Regions from separate parts of the Homo sapiens genome. Here regions 2, 3, 4 and 5 are each linked to region 1. Evidence: promoter capture Hi-C in 16 types of primary human blood cells and fetal thymus (Javierre and others, 2016). All regions are on one chromosome and are shown on one strand. The core of a region is centred on a gene start or on the middle of the fragment in contact, and the rest is flanking DNA. Distances in the headings are between cores, read along the strand shown.

The links. Contacts are between HindIII fragments. The CHiCAGO score rates a contact against its expected background, and 5 or more counts as called.
Region 2: the fragment with the promoter of NFAT5 here is called in contact with the fragment with the promoter of CYB5B in region 1 in 6 of 17 cell types (activated CD4 T cells, megakaryocytes, endothelial precursors and 3 more); the score reaches 7.2 in activated CD4 T cells.
Region 3: a fragment that was not itself captured here is called in contact with the fragment with the promoter of CYB5B in region 1 in 3 of 17 cell types (activated CD4 T cells, M1 macrophages and endothelial precursors); the score reaches 7.2 in activated CD4 T cells.
Region 4: a fragment that was not itself captured here is called in contact with the fragment with the promoter of CYB5B in region 1 in 10 of 17 cell types (activated CD4 T cells, monocytes, M2 macrophages and 7 more); the score reaches 9.3 in activated CD4 T cells.
Region 5: a contact is called between a fragment that was not itself captured here and the fragment with the promoter of CYB5B in region 1, in 2 of 17 cell types (activated CD4 T cells and total B cells). The highest score is 6.2, in activated CD4 T cells.

The regions. Positions count from the first base shown.
Region 1 is chr16:69,423,173-69,425,872 of GRCh38, reverse strand. It overlaps CYB5B (cytochrome b5 type B), which reads right to left and starts at 1,254. Exons shown (of 5, transcript NM_030579.3): 1 at 1,016-1,254. The coding sequence starts at 1,189. RefSeq lists enhancers at 876-1,423, 1,424-1,971. The HindIII fragment of the contact is 7,938 bases long and covers 173-2,700 here.
Region 2 is chr16:69,564,594-69,567,293 of GRCh38, reverse strand. NFAT5 (nuclear factor of activated T cells 5) reads right to left here and starts at 1,328. Exons shown (of 15, transcript NM_138713.4): 1 at 920-1,328. The coding sequence starts at 992. It overlaps MIR1538 (microRNA 1538), which reads left to right and starts at 1,426; the gene lies at 1,426-1,486. RefSeq lists silencers at 533-842, 863-1,132, 1,427-1,603, 1,323-1,702 and an enhancer at 2,364-2,700. The HindIII fragment of the contact is 15,576 bases long and covers 1-2,700 here.
Region 3 is chr16:69,606,723-69,609,422 of GRCh38, reverse strand. All of the region lies in intron 2 of NFAT5 (nuclear factor of activated T cells 5), which reads right to left. Among named protein-coding and RNA genes, the nearest start is that of NFAT5, 42 kb to the right of the region's middle. The HindIII fragment of the contact is 742 bases long and covers 970-1,711 here.
Region 4 is chr16:69,626,723-69,629,422 of GRCh38, reverse strand. All of the region lies in intron 3 of NFAT5 (nuclear factor of activated T cells 5), which reads right to left. Among named protein-coding and RNA genes, the nearest start is that of NFAT5, 62 kb to the right of the region's middle. The HindIII fragment of the contact is 5,008 bases long and covers 1-2,700 here.
Region 5 is chr16:69,590,030-69,592,729 of GRCh38, reverse strand. The region is part of intron 2 of NFAT5 (nuclear factor of activated T cells 5); the gene reads right to left. Among named protein-coding and RNA genes, the nearest start is that of NFAT5, 25 kb to the right of the region's middle. The HindIII fragment of the contact is 223 bases long and covers 1,169-1,391 here.

The DNA of each region.
Region 1 (2,700 bases), core at 5-2,504:
CTTTCACAAGTCATTAATCTATTGCTCAAAATAAAATGATCACACACAAACCGAAAATCAAAGCTTCAAACATACACACACCGAAAATCAAAGCTTCAAACCAATCTTTAGCGGCTGCATATCACTAGTTGCCTGGGGTTGGGAGAGAATGACTGCAAAGGGAAAGGAAGCTTTTTAGAATGATGGAAATGGTTTATGTCTTAACATGGATGAATACATTTTTCAAAACTCATCAAAATGTACATTTTAGATAGGCACAATTTACGTATGTACATTACACCTCAATAAAGTTTTAAATATTTAGAAGTCTATCCTGTTTCCTTAAAAAAAAAATTAGTTGCACCATGGTCTCAAAAATAATTTTTAAAATGAGATGTAATGCAACAGACTTGAAGATTAAATAAAACAGTCTTGAATATTTAAGAAAAATGACAAAACATGAGTCAAAAACAAAAAAAAAGGGTTGATTTATGAGTTTCTGGCCTCAAGGTCAACTCAGATTAGGGGGAAAAAAAAACAGTGGAGGCATAATCAAGATGGGGAAGCGTGTGGAGAGAAATCTCAGCTTCTACTCTAGAAGACGAAAACCAAAACCGGTATTACTTCAGAAGGCACACTGGAAAAGCACAGATGTGGGTGCACTTCAGACCTAGGTTCAACGGATCTAAGCTGCTAACTCTATGGCCCTGAGAGTCCTCAACCTGTGAGCCTCAGTTTCCCTTTCTGTAAAATAAAGATAATGATGGCTTAGAGTTTAGCTGAGCACACAGCAAATGCTCGACACATAAGTAATACATGATATTACATAAGGCACCAGAACTCGGAGCTGACTGGAAATGCATGCAAACTAAAGCCCTCCCCCAATCCCACCCCAGTTTCCCTCTGAGGGTCGTGATCCCTTTCTTACGCCTTATCGCCCCCAGCCAAGCCTCCCTTCCTTCCCACATACACTCCACACAGCCTTTTCACCCCTCGCCCCAGCAGCTTCAGAGGCCTCCCACCTCCCAGGCCCCACCTCGTTGAGGAAGCGGGTGACATCGTAGACTCGCCCATGGATCACAAGCCACAGTTCCTTCAAGGAGTTGCGCTTTGCCACCTCCTCCAACCGGTAATAGGTGACTGAGGTCTCGACTTCCTGCCCTTTCCCATCGCTGCCGCTAGCTTCCGCAGTCGCCATTGAACCGGACATACTGCCTCTCCACCGCTAACTGAGATTCCGCGACTACTTTCCTTGAGAGCCCGCGCTCAGCCTTCCTCGGCTTCCGTAACCAGGGCCCATAAGGCCTTGAGACGGTTCCTAGCAACAGCCAATCACACTTCCGAATAGTTCCTGGTTCGTTTTCTTTTCACCAATGAAGGGAGTGGCTCAGTTCGAAATCCCGCCCACTCCTCGCCCGATCCTCCAGATGAAAGTCTGGTTCGAGGTCCAACTAACCAATTAGGGTCGTTCAGCCCCCTCCAACCTCGCCAATCAGATACCGCGATTTTTGGACTGGCGCCCAAAAGAGGCGTGCTGACAGGTGTCACTTCAGGAGAGGTACCACTTCTCTCAGCCTGTGGGCCTTTAGGGTCTCCAGTGTTCTGCTTCCCTTCCCATCGCTGTGGCTTTCTCCTGAGTCTCAGAAAGTTCCTATCCCCTACACTACCGGCGCAGCCTGTATCCCAACCCTGATTTTACATCTTTGCTGCCTCCAGGTCGTGATCTGGCCAATCCCGTCTCTCCTCAATTTCCCCATCAGTAAAATGGGCTTGATAAAGCACTCTCTTACAGAGGGGTTTGCCTTTTTTTTTTTTTTTTTTTTTTTTGAGACAAGTTCTCGCTCTGTCTCCTAGGCCAGAGTGCAGTGGCACGATCTCGGCTTACTGCAAACTCCGCCTCCCAGGTTCAAGCGATTCTCCTACCTCAGCCTCTCGACTAGCTGGAACTACAGGCATGCGCCACCACGCCCGGCTAATTTTTGTATTTTTAGTAGAGAGTAGGTTTCACCATGTTGGCCAGGCTGGTCTCGAACTCCTGACCTCAGGTGATCCGCCTGCGTAGGCCTCCCAAAGTGCTGGGATTACAGGCGTGAGCCACCGCGCCTGGCCCGGTTTGCCTATTTTAATGAGAGTGCCTGTAAAGCGCTTGGCGCATAGTAATCGCTAAACATGGCAGTCGATTAGAAAGGCAATTGCTGTCCCGGACAGCAATTGGGGGTAGAATGTGGAGTATCCTATGTTTCTACCATCATTCAGAATCCGATTTTCAAACGAATTCTGTGATGATCAGGATCAATCGGCACTATTTTAGTCTCTACGTGATCTAAAATAGAATTGAACTCAACTGCTCTCCGCTAGAGGTCCCAGCACTTTGGAATTCCAAGTTTGGTTAAGGTACAGTGTTGTGCGCCACTTTTTAACTGCCATTACAACTGACAGATTGCTCTTCCTATGATGTCGTCGTTTTCATCCTGTCACTCTCGCAGTCTACCATTCAGGGCTCTCCACAATCCATTCGCAACCTCTTTCACTAACGTATAATATTTTCCACCATTCCCTTTATAAGCCTGTTGCACCCGCCCCGACTCTGAAACCTGCTGGTTTAAAACCACATCCGTGGTCATCCCAGGTCCACCAAGTTAATTTTAGATCACTTAGAGACTAAAATAGTGCAGATTGATCCTGATCATCACAGAATTCATTTGAAAATCGGATTCTGAA
Region 2 (2,700 bases), core at 79-2,578, 140 kb before region 1:
TCCAGTGCTAATATTTCAGATGCTGGGAATCCCCTGCAGGCCTTAGCCAAAAGAGTTCTTAAATGAAAAGTCTCTGCCTGAGCTCCCTCCCTGCAACCAGCCCTTGAACGGAAAAGCAGAGAAAATTCTCAAAGGACAGCGTCTGTGCCTGGGCTGGTCCTCCTGGGAGAGGAGAGGAATAAAACCAATCCAGAGAGGGCACCCCCATCTTTGTAAAGGAGAAGGGAGAAGTAATTAGAATGCCACGGAGGTGGGAAGAGAAAAAAAAAGAAAAGAAAATTCGGGCCCTTTCCATCGGGCCCTTTCCAGCAAGAAGATGACGAGGAAAGGAAGAACGCCTGGTCGAGGGGGGCTGTCCCAACATGGGGAGGGAGTGGACTAGGCCGGAGGGAGAGGGGGTGGAACGACGGCGCAAAAACAAGCTGGAAAGGGAGGAAAATGGTGACCCTGCACTCAGAACCGGCTCCAGGCCACGCCGCCCGCTTGGGGGCAACTTTGCTGGGGAGGAGGGTCCCGGTAAGAGAAGACGCGGCGCCCCGATCGCGGTGGCCCCAGCGCGGGGCCCAGTCTGGGGCCATCCCCGAGCCCGGGAGGCCGGGGCCGGCGGCTCGCGGAGCCTGGCGGGGCCGGACGGGCTGAGAGCGGCTAGAAGCGACCGGTGCCGCAGAGCCCCGGGGGCCGACGGAATCTGGGCCCCGAGCGGCCGGCGGCTCCGCGGGGGAGGGGCCGCCACTGCTCCGCCCGCCCCCTCCACCGTCACCCCGATCCCTTCGGCCTCTGCCCGCTCCGGCCAAAGAAGCCATGGGGGTCGCGGCTCAGCCGCCCCCGGCGGGACGGGGACCCCTCGCCTCCCCTGGCCCTGTCTCCCTGTCTCCCTGTCTCCCCGCCCCCACGCCCCACCCCCCACAGCCTGACTCACCTCGCGAGTAGAGGGACTTGGGCGATTCCAGGTCTAGGTCCGCGCTGAGCAATGAGATGAAGTCCGAGGGCATCGCAGCTCGACCCAGCCCGGCCCGAGGGCAGCGGGAGGGGGGGAGCGGCGGTGGCGGCGGCACCTCCTCTCCGGGACCGCGGGCACCGAACCGGGGGCGGCGACGCGAGGGCGGCTGCCGCTGCCTCCTCCTCGAGGGTAGTGACTTCCACTGGGCCGAGGACCGAGGAAACGATGGCGAGGTGGAGGGGGAACTCCACGGGGACTGATTCTCGGTGACCAGGAGAGGGGTTCAGGACGGGGAAGGGGAAGGGGGAGAGCCAAAGGGTCCGTTTCGTGTTTCTCCTCAGCGAAAACTGACGGTCGCCGCCACCGCCGCCGCCGCTGACAGGAATCTGAGCCCCGCCCCCGTGGGGCACAGCGCAGGCGCGGAGGGGGGTGCCCGGGAGCGCGGAAGAGCCGTGGCGGCCCCCGGAGGGCGGGGAGGCGCGCCAGGGAACAGCAGCAACATGGGCCTCGCTTCCTGCCGGCGCGGCCCGGGCTGCTGCTGTTCCTGAGCCGGGAAAGGGCCCCGCTGCCAGGGTGGGAGGGGGGGAGGCTGGGAGGTGGCCGCGCGCTGGGGCCCCGGGGAGGGAAAAGGTATTTGCAACGACCTGGTGGCGGCGAGCCTGAGGCGGCCGGCCCCGAGCAGAGCTGAGCGCAGGAGACAGAGCCGAGAGAAGCGAGAGGTCTGCGCGAGCCGGGGACGGACCCCAGAGGCCGGCGGCGGACGGGCCTGGCTGGCCCGGGGTCTCGCAGGGGACCGGAGTGTCATCGCCCGGACAGCCGCCAACCCTTTGGGGTTTGCATAGCAGTGTGTACAAAGGGACTGTCAAACCCATTTCTTAATTAGGAAATGGCAAACCGTATCCCAAAAACCTCGAGTTATTGATTTTTAATTAAAGTACTTTCTCCCCTAACACTCCCCTCCTACCTTTGGAGGCTGAAATTTTTTTTAAAAAAAACGATCTCTCTGATTGTGCTGGGGCATCCGGGTTATTCGGAGTGGGACATAGAAGACAATTAAAAAATTGGATCATGTGAATCCACCTGGCTGTTCTAGAGGAAAAACAGGTAAAAAGCAAACCTCAACGCTACTCTTCCAAACAGTTTTTCTTTTTTCTGTTTCTTTTTTTTTCCTTTTGGACTAGGCAAAGATGGAGGAAGAACGCATTTAACTGAGTTTTTGCTCTTGCTTTTCTGTTCGTGGAGCCAAAAGTTTCCGTTGCAAAAATTTAAAATCCTCACCCACACCGCAGAGCGTTTTCTGATTCTAATAGACTTCTGAGAAATTTTTAATCAAGTTATTGAAATATTACCTGGAGTGCAGGGTGTGCATCTTGGGAAGTAATTTTAATCTTGTGTGGAATATTGATGCCAGTAGCCACGTGGGCATGGTTTTTAAGCTATTCGAATGGTTTCGTTTTTTATCTACAAGGATAGTTACAACTCATGAAAATCAGTCTGTTGTAATATGTGTATGTGTATATATATGCACACATATATATACATACATATATACACACATATATACATATATATATAATTATAGAGACTTTTTCCCATGAAATTGAGCAGTTCTCGGGACTTGGAGTGCTAGGGTTGGGGTAAGAAGCTCTCAGCAAAGGAGGGCCCAGTACAGATGTCGCTGAGGCAAGGCCCTTTACAAAGTTTTACCTGTAGACCTAGAATTTAAACGTGTGTCATCAGAGCTCACCTATCTTTCATCT
Region 3 (2,700 bases), core at 91-2,590, 180 kb before region 1:
ATTTTTTTTAACCTGAATGAAGATGCCTGGGATTTCATCACAGACCGACTACTGAATAGGGGTTTACAGGGAATAAGATCACAGAATGTATATGTGTATAAAGCTTCACAAGTGATTCTGGCTAACAGCCATTACTCTGAAGCATGAAATGCAGCTGGAATGAAAATGGATTGGCTTGTATTTACTACCTCTTTAAGCATTGCTAGTTAATTCATTTTTTTCTGAAGAGTCTAGGAAAGAACAGCAACCAAAGACCTGAACCACCTTCTTCTGCAGATTACCTAAATACTTTTTTTTTTTTTGAGGCGGAGTCTCACTCTGTTGCCCAGGCTGGAGTGCAGTGGCATGATCTTAGCTCACTGCAAGCTCTGCCTCCTGGGTTCACACTATTCTCCTGCCTCAGCCTCCCGAGTAGCTGCGACTACAGATGCCTGCCACCACGCCTGGCTAATTTTTTGTATTTTTAGTACAGACGGGTTTTCACCGTGTTAGCCAGGATGGTCTCGATCTCCTGACCTCGTGATCCGCCCGCCTTGGCCTCCTAAAGTGCTGGAATTACAGGCGTGAGCCACCACACCTGGCCAGATTACCTAAATTCTTCAACCTAGAGGAAAAAACAATTATATTTACATAACAAAAAATTAGCCGGGCGTGGTGGCAGGCACCTGTAGTCCCAGCTACTTGGGAGGCTGAGGCAGGAGAATGGCGTGAACCCAGGAGGCAGAGCTTGCAGTGAGCAGAAATTGTGCCATTGCACTGTACCACAGCCTGACTAAAATGACAACTACTATTTCACATGGTGGTAGATAATTTTCAATATACTTATTTTTAGTAGAGACAGGATTTCACCGTGTTAGCCAGGATGGACTCGATCTCCTGACCTCGTGATCCGCCCGCCTCGGCCTCCCAAAGTGCTGGGATTACAGGCGTGAGCCACCGCGCCTGGCCACCCAGCAGTCTTCTTAAGCTTCTTAAGTTGAAGTGGTAGAGCTAGGAGTCTGGGGAAGCCCAGATGGCCGGGGTTCTCAATGCAGAGTACTGGAAAGGAGAGACACACTCAGAGAGAACGCTGGAGATCTATAGAGGATCTCCTTAGAGTATCTAGTTGAGTAGTGATCATTGTATGTATGCATGTGGGGAACTACTCAAGGGATTCTCCTGCCTCAGCCTCTCTCGAGGAGTTGAGATTACAGGCACGCCACAACACCCGGCTAATTTTTTATATTTTTGGTAGAGACCGGGGTTTTGCCATCTTGGCCAGCCTGGTCTCGAACTCCTGACCTGAAGTGATCTGCCCACTTTGGCCTCCCAAAGTGCTGGGATTACAGGCGTGAGCCACCGTGACCGGCCAATAAAGTAGTTTTTCTAGTACACTGTTACATGATTATACTACCATAAGCATTTAGTTTTCTAATTTCTTTTTAAGCACCATGGCCCTTTTGAAATTATATCAAATGCAGAAGTACCTTTTCAGAAATCATAGTTAACAGCAGTTTGACTACTACTGGTGTGAGGAAAACAAACACATGAAAGGGAGTAATGAAAAGAGAGAGTGGAAAATAGAAAAAGTATGTCACAGAATCAAGTCAGGAAATTGAAAGTACCTTAGAAAAGAAATTGAGAATCTCTTCCACTGACATGAGAGAAAAAGAAAATAGAAAATGAGAAGACCAAAATAAATTTTTCAGAAGAAGTCACAAGTTGAGAAGCTTTAGTGAGATGGATTCAAATGTGCTCTAGAAGAGAATTCAGTTGTTTCCATTTGCCAGTGGCTATGCTCTAGAAGCAGATGCTTAAGAGGTATGTAAGAAATCCTTCTACACCTATTTATCTTTAAAGGGCCAATTACAAAATATGGAAGAATTAAGGGGTTAAGACTCAGGGGATAAAGGTTCTAGTATTAGAGGTTGTCAATATCATTGTTAAAAGCACATAAATTTTCATTTGGCTTGATCAGAAACTCACAATCATGACTATACGTAACAGATAATTAGGACGCATTTCAAGTATTTATTGTAATCTCTCTTTTTTTGCATTAAGGGGGATAAAGTAAAAAGAAGAAAGTCACAAGATTCCTTGGAAAAGTCTACAACCATTATACAAAGCATCTGATCCTTGTGTCAGTATACCAATATTGTTTATAATAAATAAGAGGTAGGCAGCATGTCATAATGAAAGAACAAAGGTAGTCAGAACTGAGGTTTCATCATAAATGTATCACTTATTTTTTGTGTGACCTTGGACAAGTTACTTATCACAGCAAGCCTTGGCTGTCTCATTTATAATACAGTGGTAATACCTATCTACCTTGTAGAGTTGTAAGCACTAGCAATAATGTGTAGAACACACCTAGAACTATTATTAATATATTAATTGGAGCTACTAACATAAATAAAAACTATAATTTCTGCCCTCAAAAGGGTTAGCAATGAGGAGGTGTTACTGAGATATTCCACGGACATTATTTCTTTTATTCCAAAGGCAATCTGATGAATACCTCATGCCCATTTCAAGGTGACTCTGATTTCACTTCACAATACACAGCTTTCCTTTTGTTGTTGTTGTTGTTCTGAGACAGTCTCCCTCTATCACCCAAGCTGGAGTGCAATGGCGCCATCTCAGCTCACTGCAACCTCTGCCTCCCCAGTTCAAGCAATTCTCATGCCTCAGCCTCCTGAGTAACTGGAATTACAGGCGTAC
Region 4 (2,700 bases), core at 124-2,623, 200 kb before region 1:
TCTTTTACCCAATATTCTGGATTGTGGATTAGCAGCATCATATTTACTTATTCCCTTAGTAACAGGAAGAGGAAAAAAATCTAAATTGGTGAATCTGAGAAACACATTTTAAAAAATTAAACAACAAAAAAATGTCCATGAACACTCATATGCCCAGTCTTTAAATTTTAAAATTTAAATTAATTTAAAACTTGTCAAACACAAACCTTTATGGCAGAACTAGAAGTCTGTTCCCACCAGGCCCTCATACCTGAGAGCAGCCAATCCGGCTCCTTCAAAACTCTGAAGAATTAACTATATCAAGAGTCAATATTTTTACACATTTCATATTTTTTCTTTTTTCTTTTTGAGACGGAGTTTCACTCTTGTTGACCAGGCTGGAGTGCAATGGCACGATCTTGGTTCACTGCAGCCTCCGCCTCTCGGGTTCAAGCAATTCTCCTGCCTCAGCCTCCAGAGTAGCTGGGATTACAGGCGCCCGCCACCACGCCCGGCTGATTTTTTATATTTTTAGTAGAGACGCAGTTTCACCATGTTGATCAGGCTGGTCTTGAACTCCTGACCTCAGGTGATCTGCCGGCCTGGGCCTCTCAAAGTGCTGGTGTGAGCCACCATGCCTGGCCCATATTTTTTCAAAAATGCTAAAGATTTTTTAAAAACCCATACAAGTCTAAATTAATATGCCTTTCCCTAGACATCTATCTAGCCTTCTGGCTAGAAAAACATTGAGTAACTTGGTAATATACTCCAAGTAACTCTGACAGTTATATCACCAAGAATATTAGTATGTCAAATAAAAATATAATTCTAATGATATATACTGATTTCCTTAAAATAATTATTCTGTGATTTAAACTCTCTTGTTTATAATGGTAAGGTATGAAGTGCTCTTTCTAAGCTATTAGAATCCTAGAATAATCTACATTGGTTGCTAAATTTATATTTTGAAAAAGATTTTAAATGACTTGTTAATGATCATATAAACTTTCTGTGTGTGACTATAACAAAACTAGAAAGTTTACCTTCTTACTCTCTTTGCCATCTTTACAATGTCAATAATTTCAAGATAATAAGAATGCATTACTTCAAAATACTTCTTTTAATTAGATTTCTTATTTTCATGATTTTTCAACTCACAGCTTTCAATGTAATTTATCTTGAGAGATTTTTCTTAAATATACTGTGGTGGGGAGAAGGTTAATATTTCATTAGGGACCCAAATTCAAGAACTTTTAATATATTTTTATATATATAAGAATTTCTAAAATTCAATTTGGTATTATCTAAAAGGAAGAACTGTTCTTTTTCTAAACCTAACAATTTTTTCAGCTTTTAAAAGGAACTGGATCTACCGTCAACAGATGTTAAAAAGCACAGAAGAAACAGACTTTTAGTTCTATATAGATTCAACGTATCTTTAAAAAACAATCTCAAAAGATACAAAAGAAATCAGTTAGTCAATTTCTACTTGTGGATTTAAAGTGAAGTATCTCATAAAAAATATTTTATCTTTGTCATATTTTATTATTGGATGCAATTTTAAAACCAGATTTAAAACTTAAAATTCCAGAAAAATATCATCAGAGCCATTTTAGAACCCAGTGGATATAAAGCAAACCAGGTCATCTTATCAATTTGATTACTAAAAAGTTCACTAATTCACAATTAAATCCACAGAAACTGTTAGAAAGTGTCTGGCAACACATGAACAGTGAACAGGGCTGATCAGTTTCTTTGCCATATTTAAAGTTTTCCTGCCTTCAACCAGGAAGGCTTCAGCAATGCACTATGCAGCCTGAGAAAGATTGGTACATAAGGTTAATGGTACATAGGTTAATGCATATGAGAAATATATCTGAAGTTATACTATAGTACCAATATCCTCATTTAAACCACAACCTTACACTTTACTGTTCTCATTTTGAAACTAAAATAATTTACTGAAAACAATGCTCTGATAAACTTTAAATATCATTTTTAAAGATGAGAGGTGTCATATTAGGCAAGAAACCTCTAATTAGGACAGATAAAACTTCAAAATATATATATATATATATATATATATATATATATATATATATATATATATATATATATATGTTTCCTTTTTTTAAAACAAACACACTTAGCAGTCTATAAATCCAATATTAGGTGGGTAAACTAACATTACAGGAAGGACTGATACTAATTTGTCACTGATAACACTTTTTTCTATTAGCTTGTCTATCTTTTATTTTTATGTAAAATAAAAATTTGAGCCAATTGTATATCATTAAGTGTATGATTTGAGAGCTGAGTAAAAATAAGTCTAATAAATTTCAAACATTACTTTCTATACCTTTTCATCAATATAAGAAAATGTCTTTATATAAATATTATATTGACGTCCTCCATTACTTTCAATAAATTGAAAACTACGAAGTCACATATATTTTTAAATATAATAAAAAGGTTTCAGTAACATGCTATGAATATAAAAGACACTTGAGTGCTTCAGTCATTTTTCAGATCATATAAAATATTTTCCCTTGGTGCAAGTCTTTAAAATTAATTATTAAACAGAAACTCAAATATAATTTTCTATTCACAGCTTGGTATTTAACCTTTTTAAGCACAGTCAACCAAACAACTTTAAGCTGGTTCCCATATTTGAAGACAAGGTCCATTTTAGGAAATGGCATTTATAGATGAGACAATGTA
Region 5 (2,700 bases), core at 31-2,530, 170 kb before region 1:
TCTTATATTTTTAGCTAGAATGCATTTTTCAGAAGCATGAATTGAGGGGAGTAATCAAAAGATGAGAAAACTATCAATTTCATAAGTATTAATGCCCCTTAAAAATTTAAGTTAGAAACATTATGAGGGAAAAAAACAGCTTCACTTTAATCTTAATCCCTGTAAAGCACACATTTTAGTCAAGACTTGAGATCATAAGAATTTGAAATAATCACAAGCTTTTATTTATTTTTCTCCTCACAATCTGTTCCCATGTTCACAAGATTTTAGATACTATAATAATTTTTGAACAACAACAAAAAAAAATCAGTGACAACTAAGTACCATGTATCATCCCTAAAAAGTAGTTACCATTGAGCATGGTGCTCACGCCTGTAATCCCAGCACTCTGGGAGGCCAAGGTGGGTGGATCACTTGAGGTCATGAGTTCGAGACCAGCCTGGCCAACATGGTGAAACCCCGTCTCTACTAAAAATACAAAAATTATCCAGGCGTGGTGGTGGGTGCCCGTAATCTCAGCTACTTGGGAGGTTGAGGCAGGAAAATTGCTTGAACTCAGGAGGCAGAGGTTGCAGTGAGCCGAGATCACACCACTGCACTCCAGCCTGGGTGACAGAGTGAGATTCCTTCTCAAAAAAAAAAAAAAAAAGAAAAAGTAATTATCATTTTCCTTTTAAGAATTATTGGTAGGAGTTACCACTAAACCTAAAAGAGCCAATAAGTATCATGGAAAAAGAGAAAGAATAAAGCTTAAAGTTTTTATAGCTTTGGAAAGACTTTTTGTAATTTTTTTTTAAATCAAGACAGGGTCTCATTCTGTCACCCAGGCTGAAATGCAGTGGCACAATCACAGGTCACTGCAGCCTCAAACTCCTGGGCTGTGTAGGAAGGGGTCTTGCTATGTTGCCCATGCTGGTCTTGAACTCCTGGCCTTAAGTCATCTGCCTTGGCCCCATGAAGTGCTGAAATTACAGGTGTGAGCTACTGTGCCAAGCCAACTTTCAATTTCTGAAAAATTTTTTGTTAAAAATATCTTGAACACCCAAAAAGAATTACTTATCCTGAAAAATCAACTTTTTTTCTCAACATATTCAGAGCAAGTTAGAGATTCATATTCAAACACTGTTTAAAGGCACTAGCATAATGTAGAAAATTATTCATAGAAGCTTCACGATAATCTTGCTAGATAAAAAGGAAATGAGGATAAAAAGAGGAAAAGAAATAAAACTAGCAAAGTTTAAAACAGATACTTGATTATGTTTCCTAACTAGAAATCCTGTCCTTTTCCCCTTACTAAACAGCTTCCTCCAAATTAACTGAATTGCATGTTTCATAAAACAGTAAATAATTTTTCCATGGTGGCCAGGCTGAAAAACCAACTATCTAAAGCTTTCCACTTCATCTTCATCCTCGGAGTAAGAAAACTGGGGCGGGGTGGGGAGGGGACTCTTTAATACTTTTTTCATACCAACTAGAAGTTAGAGAAAATACAATTTGTGGCCAGGCACAGTGGCTCATGCCTGTAATCCCAGCACTTTGGGAGGCCAAAGCAGGCATATCACCTGAGGTCAGGCGTTTGAGACCAGCCTGGTCAACATGGCAAAACCCCATCTCTACTAAAAATAGAAAAATTAGCCAGGCATGGTGGCATGTACCTGTAATCTCAGCTACTAGGGAGGCTGAGGCAGGAGAATTGCTTGAACCCAGGAGACGAAGGTTGCAGTGAGCCGAGATTACGCCACTGCACTCCAACCTGGGCGACAGAGTGAGACTCAGTCTCAAGAAAAAAGAAAATACAATTTGGGAAATAAAATGATACAGCCTCTCACACATTAAGGTCCAGATCGTGCCTAAATTTCTAGTGATTTGAGTTAGAAGACCTGAAAGATTCTCCTTTGTCTCTTATCTCACTCTAATCCCACAACACTCTACCCCAGATGGGGCGGGGAATCCCATGACACTGTACCCAAGAAAGGTAGCCATTTTAAAAATATGTTCAGCAAAACTGAAAAATAATTACATGGGACAAATCTCCCTATCCTGAACAACTAAACTGTTAGGCTGAGGGAGGGGAAAGCCAAAAAAAGATATAGAACACAACCTGAAATTTATATAACACTAAATTTAAAACATGATTTGGTTTAAACCACTTTAGAATTAATTTTCTCCTTATAATCATCTAGCCTGAGACAAAGTAGCTATGAATAACAATTTTCCAGTATTTTCAAACTGAAATTCAACTGAGTCTTATTTTAACAATACAAATACAAAGAAAGAACTAGAACTGCCTTATACTTTAAATCACATTTACGCAAAAAATCCTGAACTTTGACTAATACAGTTTTTTAAATAGCACTTTAAATATCCAAACCTAAAAGTATTTGGAAATAACTTTGTTGCATACCATAGCAAAATTGTCTAAAACAAGATTTGTCAATTTACAAATCTATTTACAATACTAGAGTTTTTAGTCACCTGATACTCAGGACTCAACGTCTGTACTCAGACGACCCACAACTGCCAAAATGCAGAGCTTTATTTATTTTTTTATTATTTGAGACAGGGTCTCATTCTGTCGCCCAAGCTGGAGTGCAGTCGTGCGATCATAGTTCACTGTAACCTTGAACTCCTGGGGTCATGCAATTCTCCTTTATCAGTCTCCTAAGTAGCTAAGACTACAGGCATGTGCCACCAGACTTG